Linked DNA regions of Homo sapiens: all the other regions are linked to region 1. The links are contacts of gene promoters, found by promoter capture Hi-C in blood cells and fetal thymus (Javierre and others, 2016). All regions are on one chromosome and are shown on one strand. Each heading gives the region's core, a stretch centred on a gene start or on the middle of the fragment in contact. The rest is flanking DNA. Distances are from core to core; before and after follow the strand shown.

Region 1 (2,700 bases), core at 59-2,558:
TGATAAGACAAAGCTAAGTTTCTTGCTCACTTAGGTAATGGAGAACAATAACTTGACAGAATTTAAGTGGTGTCTCAGAGAGGGAAGAGCAAGTTTGGGCTATATGTATTGAGATTTTGAAGTCCCATTGTAAGTCTAATATTTAATGAGGGGAATTGGTTAGAATTGAGTCAGCTACGGGTAAAAGTTTAGGATTGGTAGATAAAACAAGGCTAGGATTTTGAGGTAAAGGTTCAAAGTCTTAGAATGTAAACTGTTCTTTGATGTTTTCCATTGAAGAGTGGTTGGATCTTTGAAGAAGATACTGGATTAAGCAATAAAGATATTTGCAACTTTCCGGTCCCTGGCAAAAGTTTCTTGAAATAGTAAATGTATGTTGATGAAAATAATGGAATAAGAAGTCAGGTTAATGTAGTTGGCAAGCTATGTGAGTGTAGATGGCTTCAGTTCTCACAATAGTGAACATACCTGATAATGTACTCAACATTTGTCACTTAGAGTATTTTATCCTGGAAAGAAGCGTAGTTGGGAAAACGCACTTGAGATGATGTTTGCTGCACACAGAATTCGGACACAGAGATGTGAATCTCCTTAGGAACCATTTTCATAAAGTTAACATTGGGTCTTAATAGACATCAGTTTTTAAAAATTAGAACAGGCTTGGGCACTGCAAAAGAAAGACACATCCGTTCACTTGGCTGTTCTTTTTAAGTTTCCAGGGAGAGCGTCAGTGCCCCTTTCAACAATAAAAGCCCGCAGGAGTGCAGATTTTATTTACCCTGTCCCCACCAGCATCCTGCTGCGGCCAATGAATCCTGGCAAAACTCCAGGTCAGCCCCAGAACCAAAGAGTAACTCACCTAAGAGGAAGGTCCGTTCCCACCAAGTCTCAGACGCCTGAACTCGTGATTTTTAGGGACTTTCCCTTCCAGTCCCTTGGAATCCAGCACTTTGGTTGGAGAACAGAACTCACTTGGGGAATGGCGCGTCTGGCCAATGGAATGAAAGATACTGGAGTTTGTCTTTTCTCTTCAGGCAGCAACTCACCTACTTCGGAAGCCGATTGGCTGCGCTGGGGACACCTGTTGGCGTGCAAAAAAGAGTGGTTGGAAAGGCAAGGCCGAGGGGGCGCGCCTACCCTACCCACCCACAGCGCTCCTCCTTGACGCCGCGAGCAGGACCCTGTCTCACTGACCCCGTGCCCACGGCGGTCCTTGCCTGCTTCTATTCTCCCGGTTTCCCCAGTCCCGAGTATTGGAAAGCGAGAGCGAAAGCGAAAGCATCCTAGTCGCCGGTAGGCTGGCCTGGGCCGGGCTGGAGAGGGAGCAGGAAATAAAAACTCGGGTGTGGGAGGAGCTGGGACGCTGGCGGCAGAGCCACTGTGGCAGCTTGAGTCTCGCGCGCGCAGGAAGCGGAGGTGGAAGTTGGGGCGCAGGAATGTGGCTGTCCCCGCCTGTAAATCATGGTTGGGGAGGAGTCGCGGAGGCACCAGGCTGGGGTCTGCAGCGCGCCATCTGCTGCAGCACACAGGAGGCGCTGAGGCTAGTTGGGTAAGTGGGGAGATTTCAGGCACTTCCGAGGGGGCGGCATCCCCAGCAGGTGGGATAGGCCCGGTGACTAGGACAAAATCACGAAGAAGCCGCGGATGCAGGAAGAGTAAACTCCCTTGTCATAAATCGATTCTCCAAACGTTCATCAATATGTGGAGACGTTTATGATAGTGATGAAGAAGATGATATGGGCTCTAGGAATATGCATCTCAAAGCTGATGATCGAAGAAGATTGGAGAGGGTTTTCAAGGCAGCCTGCTGTTTAAGGACCTGCATTCTGAGTAGATGTGTATTGGAAAAGGCGATTACAGTCACAAAGGGGACAACTTTTATGCAATTGACAGAGGACTATATGATGTATATAAACAGATAGGGTTGAAAGGTGTGTTGGTAACTACAAAACACATGGGAATTTGAAGGAAGGAACTGGCCTTAAATGCATGTACAATACACCAAGAGAAGCTAAAATTACTGCTTCATCTTCTGTGGGTTCTTTGGGGTTTGGATAGAGTAACCTTAAAACATATTTGAATGCTGACTTTTTCTATGAGACTCACTTTTGGAATCTGTGCATTCCTACATTCACAAAGGGTAATCACAGCTAGTACCCAGCATCCAAACAATAGCAGCCAATAATTCTAATCTGGAGAAAATTTTCTTTTCTCTCTCTTTCTCTCTCTCTCTCTCTTTCTTTCTTTCTCTTTCTTTCTTTCTTTCTCTTTCTTTTTTTCTTTTTCTTTCCTTCTTTCTTTCTCTTTTTTCTTTTCTTCTTCATTCCTTCCTTCCTTTCTTCCTTTCTTTTTTCTCTTTATTTCTTCTCTTTCTTTCTTTCTTCTTTCTTTTTTCTTTTATCTTTCTTTCTTTCTCACTTTTCTCCTTCCCTCCCTCCCTCCTTTCTTCCTTCTTTCTCTTTTGCCTGTTTTACATTTTAATGTGTAAGCAAATAGTGATTAAAGGACAATAGGCTTAACATTTTCTAAAACATGGGTGTTCAGAATTGAATATACTGATAAAATTTGTTTCCAAAAGGAAGGATTATATACTAGGTGGGAGTGTAAATTAGTTCAACCATTGTGGAAAACAGTGTGGCAATTCCTCAAAGACTTAAAAACAGAACTACCATTCAACCCAGCAATCCCATGACTGGGTAT
Region 2 (2,700 bases), core at 3-2,502, 420 kb after region 1:
CAGAATAAGGAGGACAGGGCTAAGAAAAAGTAGAAATGCAGGGACCAGAGGCAGGTATATTGTCTTCTCAATACTCAAGAGTCACCCTTCTACAGGGGACCCCTAGGCTGCCCATCAGTGAGACATGACAGAATTGAAATCCTCCCCCTGTCCCCCTTGAACCTGGCTGGCTACTACTGCCCTGACAGCTAGCAAGAGGCCAAATCCACAGAACAACCACTACTACCCCTCTGTCAGCAGGAAGCAGTTATAGAAGACTGACCTTTGTCTATATTCCCCAAATAATTGGGGTCTTGAACTCATGGTGGGGGAAATGTTACACAAGGTAGATAGTCAGGCATGAGTAGGGCAGGAGAAGGCTCCATGCCCCACATCCCACACCCAGATATGTCAGGCAACCATCAGGTGATGGTCCAGTGGTTGTTAACTGTCTCTCTAAAATAATAATTGGTCACAGCCAGTGCCAGCCAGGTTCAGTCTCCGAATACAAAAAAAAACCAAACCTGAAAATGGTGATCAGCAGCTTCCTGACAAGACCTCAGGAGTTGGGCAAGCAGGCTTAAGCATGTGCATTCAGAGGCAAAATGACAGAGTTTAATTATGATATGAACTTCTAGGGACATTTGACTGGTAAGGGAGAATGCCTTAAGTTAGCATGCATACAACTCTATGCTCACACTACACATGCTCACCTCCCACATGCTAGCAGGCTGCTGAACATGTGGACAGCCCACCCCCATGGGAAGAATCAGGGGAGAATGGACACAAGACCCCAAAATTATGCCTACATATAAAACTCAGTCAAAAGGTCCAACTGCACACTTGATCTCTCAGGTCGCCCACTTGGCCCCCTTCCAAATGCACTTTACTTCTTTTCCCTCCTGCTCTGATGTTTTTAACAAACATTTACTGCTACCCCAAAACTTGCCTTGGTCTCTCCTTCTGCCTTCTGCCCCTCAGTCAAATTCTTTCTGTTGAGGAGGCAAGAATTGAGGATGCTACAGACCTGTACAGATGCACCACCAGTAAAGGCTTTTCACTGATGTTCTAAAATCACAAGGTTACCTAGTTATGGAATCTTGCATCAGACCAGTTTTAATGCAACACTCTCTCATAGCCCTACCTTCACTTAGAAGTTACTTTGCTCTCTTCCAAACATCACAGTTCCAAAATAGAACACAGTGACACAACATCTTTCTTCATTTTTCAGGTAGTTGTGATGTTATGAAGTGTTTAGGTAATCCCAATTTGATGCAGCTAGTCAAATATGTAAAAATGCTATTTTTGTATTACTTAGTAATTTCTACAAAATGTACCACAGATCCTAGTATAAGGCTTAAAGATGGAATTAGCCTCAAAGTGTGAGGCTTGGTGAAAGTACAAGTTTTGAATATGATGCAGTAATAATTTTTGAAAGGTTAATTGTTTATATTTAGACCATGTCAGAATGCCCTTTATTAAAATGCCTATATCAAAACATCATGCAATATATAGGACTTTGGCTCAAGTGGGGGAAAGAAGAAAAGGAAGAGGAGGAAAAGAGGAGTGGTGGTAGTAATCAAATAAATAACAAATGTTCAGTGCTTAATATAAGACCTACAATCTACTAAGCACATTGCAGGTATTCATTCCTTTAATCCTTACAAAAATTCTGAGTGATATAGTGCTATTATCCCAACTACCTTTGAGGAAACCAAGGTACAGAGAGACTAAATAACTTTCCCAAGGTTACACAGCTCGTTCTCAGAGGAGTCAGGAGAATCACTAATAGCAACTAAAATTCAAAAGATATTATGTGTATTTAAAAATGTACTTTTTAAATCTAAAATGAAATTAATGGCTGGAATTCATCAAAGGGTAAGAAAAAAGAGCTAAAAAACTCAGAGAAAGCTCCTTGTGTTTTCTACGAGTCTCATTTTCTCTTGGATTTGCTGAGGACTGCAGTTGAAAGGCACTAAAAAAAAAAAACCTGGTCATTAATAAAGAACTTGCTACTCTTGTTTCAGAATCTCCTCTAGCTTTTCTCAATCCTGTATGTTCCTTGGTTGTCTTTCTAGGCTAAGGTATCCTCCATGATGTTACCATTGCAAGGTGCCCAGATGCTGCAGATGCTGGAGAAATCCTTGAGGAAGAGCCTCCCAGCATCCTTAAAGGTGATAATGGAAAATTCTGAGAGGAGTAAAGAAGACAAACTTGATGTGAAAGAGGAGGGAAAGGGACTGATATTTATGATGCACCTATTTTGAGCCAGGCACTATTTCATGTTTTCTCTCATTTAGTATGCCTTACCTCTCTACAAGATGTTTACTGTCATGTCCATGTTGCTGTTAAGAAAATGAAGACTCAGTTAACTGATTTTCTCAATATATCACAAATACTGAGTTGCAATGCTATGATATGAACATAGTTATGCCTTAGTCTAAACACTGCCTTTTGCTCTGTGCTAACTCAAAAAATTACTTCCTTGCTCCTTTCCAAGAAGCATTTTATAATAACATTTGAAATTTGCCCAGAGTTCTACAAAGTTGGCTGAGGCTGCATATTAATGTTTAACTTGTTTATTACAAAAGGACACTTGCCAGTGAGAGGTTAACTAGAATGAGTCTTCTTTGAAATTAATAACAGATCAATTTCTATTTTAATGTAAATTTCCCAATTGCTCTGAATTGAAGGCAGGTCGAGTTACTTTAGGGCTAGCTC
Region 3 (2,700 bases), core at 43-2,542, 310 kb before region 1:
TTGATCACATTTCATTCTTTTGACAAACTTGTGAGCAAGTAATGATATTTCCATATTACTGGTGCTAAAAGTGAGATAAGTGTTGGTATGAGTCACAGGTAACACCAAAAAGCATTTAGGGTATTGATTTCAACCTTATACCCTCTTCTTCTCCTGAGTCCACAAGCTCGATAGCTCACATTGTTTAATCTCATTTCTTCTTTTTGTTTGTATACTCCCGCTAATAGAATCGAGCGGCTATGAAGATATACAATGAAGTAGTGGAAGAAGAGCTAGCGACCTGTTACTCTTAGGCTAGCATTTTGAGAAAACTAAGTCAGACAGACTTCCACTCTCCATCTGACTGCTCACCCCCATTTTCTGCTCTCGGAAGGCCCAAGTCTCCTCTGCAGCCTCTGCATGGCTGACTTCATCTCTTGATTTCTCAGGGAATAGATGATGGGGTTCAGCATGGGGGTAATGACCGTGTTATTAATGGATATGGTTGTGTCCATGGGCAGCGTCATGAAGGGCCGGCAGTAGATGTAAACACAAGGCACGAAGTGAAGAGTCACCACCAGCATGTGGGACGTGCACGTGGAGAGGGCCTTGTTCCGCCCCTCCCCAGAGTGGGATCTCAGCATCACCAGAATGACAGTGTAGGAGCCCAGGAGCAGGAGGAACCAGAGCAGGGTCACCAGTCCGTTGTTAGAGATCATGAAAAGCTCCAAAGCAAAGGTGTCAGTGCAGGCCAGTTTTACCACCTGGAGCACATAACAGTAGAAGGCATCCAGTGTGTTGGGGCCACAGAAGGGGAATGGAAGCATCAGAATTACCTGGATGATTGAATGCAAACCACCACTCACCCAAGAAGCCACCACCAAGGCCACCCACACCTCTTTCCTCATCATGGTCACATAGTGCAGGGGCTTGGCGATTGCAAGGTATCTGTCATAGGCCATCACAGAGAGGAAAAAAATATCTGCCCCACCAGCAAAGTGGAAGAAAAAGATCTGTGCCATGCAGTCATTGTAGGAGATGGTTTTCCTGTCTGATAAAAGATCCACCAGGAACTTGGGGACGGTGATAGATGAAAAAACGATGTCCAGGACTGATTTGTTCCGCAGGAGAAAGTACATAGGAGTGTGTAGGCGGGACTCACAGGTAATAGTGACCACAATGAGTGCATTTCCCAGGACTGTTGCTACATACACAGCAAAGAAGACCACAAACAAGAAAAACTCCAGCTCTCGGGAACGTGTAAGTTCCAGGAAGAAAAACTCCTTCACATTAGTGTGGTTGATCTGGTCCATGATGGGGATGACTCTCTTCCAGGTCCTACCTTTGATGAAGATATGTTAGAACTTGGATTATGGTGACATGAGGTGGCAAAATCATTGATCACATACTGCTCTCAAGCATCCAGGTCATCATGACTACACAGAAAAACTGGGCCAGTCTTCTCTTTGTGGTCTGGAAATTCTTCTTTCATATGGTTCTTCTTTCTTATTGTAAATACCTTGGGTTAACAGGAAAAAACCATCACATGTCTGTATCCTCACTCTGACCAGAGAGAGATGGATGGACTATGGCCATTTGCCTATGCTTTACCAAGGGCTTTCACCTGCAATAGCTCATACTGATTTCAATTCTCATGAAGTTTCTGAAGAGTCTTTAGTATGGTTATCTCCATTTTATATACGGGGAAACTGAAGCTTTACAGCAGTTAATGACTTACATCTGCATAGTCGCAAAATTAGTGAATTGTAAATTGAGGATTCAAATACAAATCAATCTCCTGACTTGAGAAAGATTCCCTCCTTGACCAAATGTTGGTTAGGCTCCTCTGAGCCCTTTTCTTGACTATGACTCAACCTTGACCTTCTGTGTCTGTCTTTGCTGAGCCCAATTTTAACAGGAATCTTGCCAAGTCAGTTTAATGAGAATTCCACACCCTTGAAATCTAATCAAATTCCTCACCCCTTACCCTTTTATATATTTATTATTTTTAACCTCATCCCTCACCCTCAATATCTAAGTCCTTGGCCAGTCTTTAGCAAGAATTCTTTTATGCCAGTTTAGCAAGAACCACCCTACCTTTGATATCACTTCTTAGTAATTTTCAATCCACTGACCTCCCTCACTCTGCTCATTGCTTATAAATCTTCACTTGTTTTCACTATATTTCGAGTTGAGCTCAATCTTTTTCTTCTATTGCAAGAGTTTTAAATGAAATCTATCTTCCTGTCTTTAATAATTGTCTGGTGAATAATTTTTCTTTAACATAACAGTCTCCAGAGGTTTTTCCACTGTACAACTCTGAGAAATCAGAGAGTCTGGGGCTTACTTTGGCTTACCGGAATTCTAGTGTGTATATAAGGCTTAAACAGTTTATTAAGTAGTTTGACTACCTAATCCTTATCTCATCCCTTATAAAAAGAGAAGGGTCAGGCCCTCATAAGTACTCCTCTTTGGCACTCTGGGAAGCCTGGACCTTGCTATTGACACACAGGGCTCTTTGTATAGAGCCACAGTCATTGTTCAGGGCATGTTTTAGTATCACAGAAAAACTGATCATTAGAGCGTCACAGGACTTCAGAGATAAATTAGTCTAATGTTTCTTACTTTAGAAGTGACTAGAGAAGGACATTTATTTTTTTCAGAATCAGAGTTTGAATTGGTGAAATATAGAGAACTGTAAACAGGTTTGTTGACTCAAAT
Region 4 (2,700 bases), core at 68-2,567, 470 kb before region 1:
TATCCCAATTACACTGATTTGATAATTATACATTGAATACATGTATCACAATATCAGATGTATCCCTGAAAATATGTACAACTATATCAGTTTAAAGATATAAAAAAAATTTTCTGTCCAAAGTTAAATATGTACAACTACGATATATCAGTTTAAAGATACAAAAAATAATAATTTTCTGTTCAAAGTTAAGCATATACATGGCACCTATGATGCTAAAACCAAGGGCCTTTAGGTCTGGAAGAGACACATAAAGTCAGGTCCTCGCGAATCTACTTCTGAAGGGGACAGAATCGGTATAGGCATATGACAGTCTAGAATCAAGACACAAGGGGTGTGGAGCGATAAAGAGCAAACAGGGAAGGGAACTAGGGGGACCATGGATCCAGGAAGGGGCTGGAAAAGCTACTTCTGGGCACCCCTGGAATCTGGGTATCCAGCTTCGAGTTAGAAGGGGGTCCTTCAAGAGAGCCTCAGGCGGGGGCTGACTGCCGAGAGTTACTCTGTCCTCCAGGTTCTTCCTAACAAGAAGCTACGAAGTTCTTATTCAGAAAAACGGAACACGACATCACACCCACGTGAAAAAAACGCTTTTAAGAGGCCAAGTCACTTTCACCTCCCACCAACTTGCCAAAGGCTGAAAGCAGGCGGACACGCCCCCAAGCGCTCTTCTCCGATTTCATTGGTTGCCCCGGCCTGCTCCTCATTAGGTCTCTCTCACTGGTCAGCAATGCCGCTTTCACAGCCAATTCTCAGAACCAATCATCTCCAACTATTGCCCCGCCTCTCCACCACGTGAGTGGCATAGGTGCCAACCAATAAAAAAAGAAAATAAGGATGTAAAGACGAGACTCCTTCCCTTTTTCCTCAACTCGTTCAGTAAATGGTAGAAAAGGTGGAGCAGCTGATACCAACCACCAATCCATGAGGGCGGAAAAGGATGATGAGAAGAGCGATGGGAGGGGGTGACGTGGCAGTGACAGGCGCATAAACTGAAATGAATGGCGGAAACAGCAGCCAATCGGCGATCAGATTGGCCGGGCATTCCGCATTCTCCCGTCCTCCCTGAGCGCTGGAAACTTCAGGAAAGCACCAATGAGCTTCCCCAAAAGTCTGATTGGCCTTTATCTGAACCAATCAAAGGTGGGTCTGGCGGACGCGTCCCACCCCAGGCTCTCACTGGGCGCTGTAGAATGACAGGCCCGAGAGAAATGCCAATATCCGCGGGGTCTTCCTCAAGTGACACTCAGCGGCACCAATCGACGTCCTTCTTCCCGGCGGCCGAGCCCTCCTCCCCGCGGCTGGCCGGGCGGGGCGGGGACGCTGCGCGGCGGTGGCTGATGCGGTAGCCGTGTGGGGCGCTCCGGGCGGCGACGGCGGCTCTCGTAGGCGGTTCCGGTCTTGTATCTCCAGGCGGCGGCGGCTCATGGCGGCGACGGAGCTGAGAGGAGTGGTGGGGCCAGGCCCGGCAGCCATTGCAGCACTTGGCGGCGGCGGCGCCGGTCCCCCAGTGGTGGGAGGAGGCGGCGGCCGCGGAGATGCGGGGCCAGGCTCCGGGGCCGCGTCAGGGACGGTGGTCGCGGCGGCGGCGGGAGGCCCGGGCCCGGGGGCCGGGGGAGTGGCGGCGGCTGGCCCGGCCCCTGCGCCGCCGACTGGGGGCTCGGGCGGCTCGGGCGCTGGGGGTTCGGGCTCGGCTCGAGAGGGCTGGCTCTTCAAATGGACCAATTATATCAAAGGCTACCAGCGGCGATGGTTCGTGCTGAGCAACGGGCTCCTGAGCTACTACAGGTAACTGCTTCCGGGGCGCTGTCGCTCACCTTGCCTCCCCCATATCTGCCAACAGTCCCAGCTCCGGCATTACCGCCAGCCGGCACCGCAGCCAGGGTTGCCCCAGGCCCCTTTTCGTCATCTGTGCGGATTGACAGCCCAGGGGTCGGAGCCCACTGTCACGAAAGTGAAAAGCCCCTGGACGTACACCTCCCCTCCCCTCGGGTTACCCACTCTTGGTGCCTTATCTTCCCTTCGCTCCCGGCCTTTCCAGTCATTAGTCGTTTGGAGAGCGTCTGTGCTTCCATTGTATTTCCACCAGCACATGGGTGCAATTATTAATTCTGCAAGCAAGGCACTGGTGTAGGTACTAAGGGAACACATGCAGCAGAACAAACCCGAGGCACTCCTCCCAAGGAACTTACAGTGGAAGTCCCAAGTTGTAGCTGTCAGTGCCCAGTCTCCAAAACTCAAGGTTATTCGTAGCTCTGGATGTACCCGTCCTTGCTCCCTTCACATTCAGACATAAGGGCATCACACACACAGGGTGGCTTCGGTATTCCGTCCCCTTTCTGCCTTATCTCTCCAAGACTTTGCATGTGCTTTGGCCTCTGGACAGCCCAGAATGGAGATGTGCACCCCAGTGCTGCTTTTATTTTTGCTTGCCCCACCTCCTCCCGTGGAAATGATTAAGTGTTTTATCTGGCATTTCTGTGATTTTTTGGTTAGTTAGGATTAACTTTTATTAAAAGAAGAATCCATGTCTTTGGTGTGATTACTTCTGTTCAACAAGGTTTATTTTGGACTGTTTAATATATATTTATGGTGACTCATAACCTGGCCATCACATGGCACGCTTTTGGGCTAAAAAGGATAGAGGAGTTAAGATAGGTGATTTGGGGACAGGGCGTAAACATTTCCTGAGGGCTGGAC
Region 5 (2,700 bases), core at 70-2,569, 410 kb before region 1:
TCCCAGTGCCAAAATGTCTTTTTGAACAATTATCAAATCCTGGAGGAACGTTTTAGTCGTGTGGGGTTCCATAGTGTAGTGGTTATCACGTCTGCTTTACACGCAGAAGGTCCTGGGTTCGAGCCCCAGTGGAACCATGAGATGTTACCTAGCGTTTTGTGAGCCAGGTGTTGGGTTTTGCACCAGGAAGCTGGCGACGAACCCGTGTCTCAAGAATTTCTACGGCTTGTTTCCCGCCTGCTGCATCAGCCCGGTTTCTCTTAGCGCTCGGCGCTGAGTCGGCCTCCGCGGCGGCCCCCGTATGGCGCCTCTCTGGAGGTGCAGGCGGCTCCGCTCCACCGAGGCTTCGCTCGCCCCTGCGCCTGCGCCTTTCCACTACCTGGCCAGCCGGCTTCTGGGTTCCTGGGTGTTGCCCCTTGGCTCACCTACCTTCTCCTAAGCCTTGCTTGGGCCATCTCTAAAAATTGCCACCACTAAGTCGAAGGACATCACGAAGGCCGCCCTCATACTTTATTTATTTAAATTAAAAATGCTTTTTGAGGCCAGGCGCGGTGGATCATGCCTGTAATCCCAGCACTTTGGGAGGCTGAGGCGGGCGGATCACGAGGTCAGGAGATCGTGTCCATCCTGGCTAACACGGTGAAACCCCGTTTCTACTAAAAATACCAAAAAAATTAGCCAGGCGTGGTGGCGGGTGCCTGTAGTCCCAGCTACTCTACTCGGGAGGTTGAGGCAGGAGAATGGCGTGAACCCGGCAGGCGGAGCTTGCAGTGAGCCGAGATCGCGCCACTGCACTCCAGCCTGGGAGAGAGCCGTCTCAAAAAAAAAAAAAAAAAAAAAAAGCTTTTTGAAAAATTAATTTCATGCACAGAATTCAGAATCCCTCCACGTATTTCACAACTGATGTTTCCATCCCATCTTTCAATGGTTAGCTGTTTCTTTTGTGACCCTTCAGAAATTGTCTATGCATTCACCAGTATACACGTACATTTACTTTAAAACCCACTTCACGCTTTTTGTACGAAGGTAGCACACATAGGTACCGCTCCCATTTCCTCAACAATATTCTGAAAATCTTCCTATTTCGTTCATACATCTTCGCTTATCCTTTTACTTCCTGTGTTTGGATATATCACAATTCTTTATGCCTTTTGATGAACACTTAAATTGTATCTAGTCTTAGGAACAATGCTGAGCAGATTTCCTTGTTCCTTGGTTTCAGGCAGGGCAATATGTAAAATAATCCTAGCAAAACCTTGAACAGGCACTTACATGGGTAGCTAACTTAATGTTCACAATGTCTCTATTATTATTTATCCCGTTTTACAGACGAGGGAGAGGAAGCATAATGAGATTAAGAAATGGCCCAGGGTTACACCCCTGGTCAGGGACAGAACACAGTACCAACCCAAGCAAGAAGAGTGTTGCCTTTATGTCTCAGAAGAAATTTAATTGATGGCTGGGCGCACTGGCTCACACCTGTAATCCCAGCACTTTGGGAGGCCGAGGTGGAAGCATGGCTTGAACCCAGGAGTTTGAAACCAGCTTGGGCAAAAAAGTGAGACGCCCTCTGCAAACCCGTCCCACCAACCTCCCTGCTCGTCCCCACCAACCCTGCCACAGCTCCTTTCAAAACAGCTTGTATCAAATTACACTCACACCAATATGAAAGCCCTTGTTCTTCCTGTCTCTCTCAAATGAAAATAACTGAATTTTGAGTCAGCTGGAAATGGTTTATTTTGTGTTTTTTTATTGTGAGTTAGGTTGAACGTTTTTCATGTACTTAAAAGCTTCCTTTCTTCCTACTATCTGTTCACCTCTTTTGTTCAATTTTCTTATGTATATATTCTGTTAATTTATGTTTAAATTGGTTTTTAGGCCGGGCGCAGTGGCTCACGCCTGTAATCTGAGCACTTTGGGAGGCCGAGGAGGGCGGATCATGAGGTCAAGAGATCGAGACCATCCTGGCCAACATGGTGAAACCCTGTCTTTACTAAAAATACAAAAATTAGCTGGGTGTGGTGGCATGCACCTGTAATCCCAGCTACTCAGGAGGCTGAGGCAGGAGAATCGCTTGAACCTGGGAGGCGGAGGTTGCGGTGAGCCGAGATCGTGCCACTGTACTCTAGCCTGGTGACAGAGCGAGACTCCGTCTCTAAATAAATAAATAAATAAATAGGTTTTTAGGTGCTCTTTGTAAATTCAGATTTAGGATATATTTTGCAAATGTATCCAGAGTTGCCATTTGTCTTTTGATTATATTTTTGATATTCCGTGCGATGTAGAAATTAAACATTTTTTTGAAGTCAATTTCATCATCTTTTTGGGGGGGGTGCAGGAGAGGGGCTTTTAACATTTCCTGCCTAGAAAATACTTACTCACTTTGAGATTATATTTCAAAAATTATTCTATATTTTCTCCTGATTGTTGTATAGTTAAACATTTTCTAATGTTTCAACCTTCTGTCAGAGGCCTTGGAACCAGAGCAACTGCATCTTGAATAGGGGCTGGGTAAAATAGGGCTGAGACCTACTGGGCTGCATTCCCAGGAGATTAAGGCATTCTAAGTCACAGGATGAGATAGGAGGTCGGCACAAGATACAGGTCATAAAGACCTTTCTGATAAAACAGGCTGTGGTAAAGAAGCTGGCCAAAACCCACAAAACCAGGATGGCAAAGAGAGTGACCTCTGGTGCCCTC

The links. Contacts are between HindIII fragments. The CHiCAGO score rates a contact against its expected background, and 5 or more counts as called.
Region 2: a contact is called between a fragment that was not itself captured here and the fragment with the promoter of FAM111A in region 1, in 2 of 17 cell types (non-activated CD4 T cells and naive CD8 T cells). The highest score is 5.9, in non-activated CD4 T cells.
Region 3: the fragment with the promoter of OR4D6 here is called in contact with the fragment with the promoter of FAM111A in region 1 in 5 of 17 cell types (M2 macrophages, neutrophils, naive B cells and 2 more); the score reaches 6.1 in M2 macrophages.
Region 4: the fragment with the promoter of OSBP here is called in contact with the fragment with the promoter of FAM111A in region 1 in 1 of 17 cell types (non-activated CD4 T cells); the score reaches 5.0 in non-activated CD4 T cells.
Region 5: a fragment that was not itself captured here is called in contact with the fragment with the promoter of FAM111A in region 1 in 1 of 17 cell types (total CD8 T cells); the score reaches 6.3 in total CD8 T cells.

What each region holds. Positions count from the first base shown.
Region 1 is chr11:59,141,464-59,144,163 of GRCh38, reverse strand. FAM111A (FAM111 trypsin like peptidase A) reads right to left here and starts at 1,308. Exons shown (of 6, transcript NM_001312909.2): 1 at 1,218-1,308; 2 at 860-1,081; 3 at 469-667. It overlaps FAM111A-DT (FAM111A divergent transcript), which reads left to right and starts at 1,356. Exons shown (of 4, transcript NR_110184.1): 1 at 1,356-1,549. It also overlaps the pseudogene LOC100422399. RefSeq lists an enhancer at 1,091-1,540. The HindIII fragment of the contact is 3,476 bases long and covers 1-2,700 here.
Region 2 is chr11:58,723,869-58,726,568 of GRCh38, reverse strand. GLYAT (glycine-N-acyltransferase) reads left to right here. Exons shown (of 6, transcript NM_201648.3): 2 at 2,058-2,153. The coding sequence starts at 2,073. Among named protein-coding and RNA genes, the nearest start is that of GLYAT, 6.7 kb to the left of the region's middle. The HindIII fragment of the contact is 3,793 bases long and covers 1-2,700 here.
Region 3 is chr11:59,455,553-59,458,252 of GRCh38, reverse strand. OR4D6 (olfactory receptor family 4 subfamily D member 6) reads right to left here and starts at 1,292. Exons shown (of 1, transcript NM_001004708.1): 1 at 348-1,292. The coding sequence starts at 1,292. The coding sequence ends at 348. The HindIII fragment of the contact is 6,869 bases long and covers 1-1,696 here.
Region 4 is chr11:59,614,391-59,617,090 of GRCh38, reverse strand. OSBP (oxysterol binding protein) reads left to right here and starts at 1,317. Exons shown (of 14, transcript NM_002556.3): 1 at 1,317-1,788. The coding sequence starts at 1,427. It overlaps LOC101927226 (a long non-coding RNA gene), which reads right to left and starts at 1,137. Exons shown (of 3, transcript XR_001748237.2): 1 at 916-1,137. RefSeq lists an enhancer at 855-944 and silencers at 1,145-1,444, 1,465-1,684. The HindIII fragment of the contact is 16,614 bases long and covers 1-2,700 here.
Region 5 is chr11:59,548,066-59,550,765 of GRCh38, reverse strand. It overlaps TRV-TAC1-1 (tRNA-Val (anticodon TAC) 1-1), which reads left to right and starts at 65; the gene lies at 65-137. The region is part of intron 3 of LOC102723575 (a long non-coding RNA gene); the gene reads right to left. RefSeq lists enhancers at 1-93, 249-468. The HindIII fragment of the contact is 947 bases long and covers 846-1,792 here.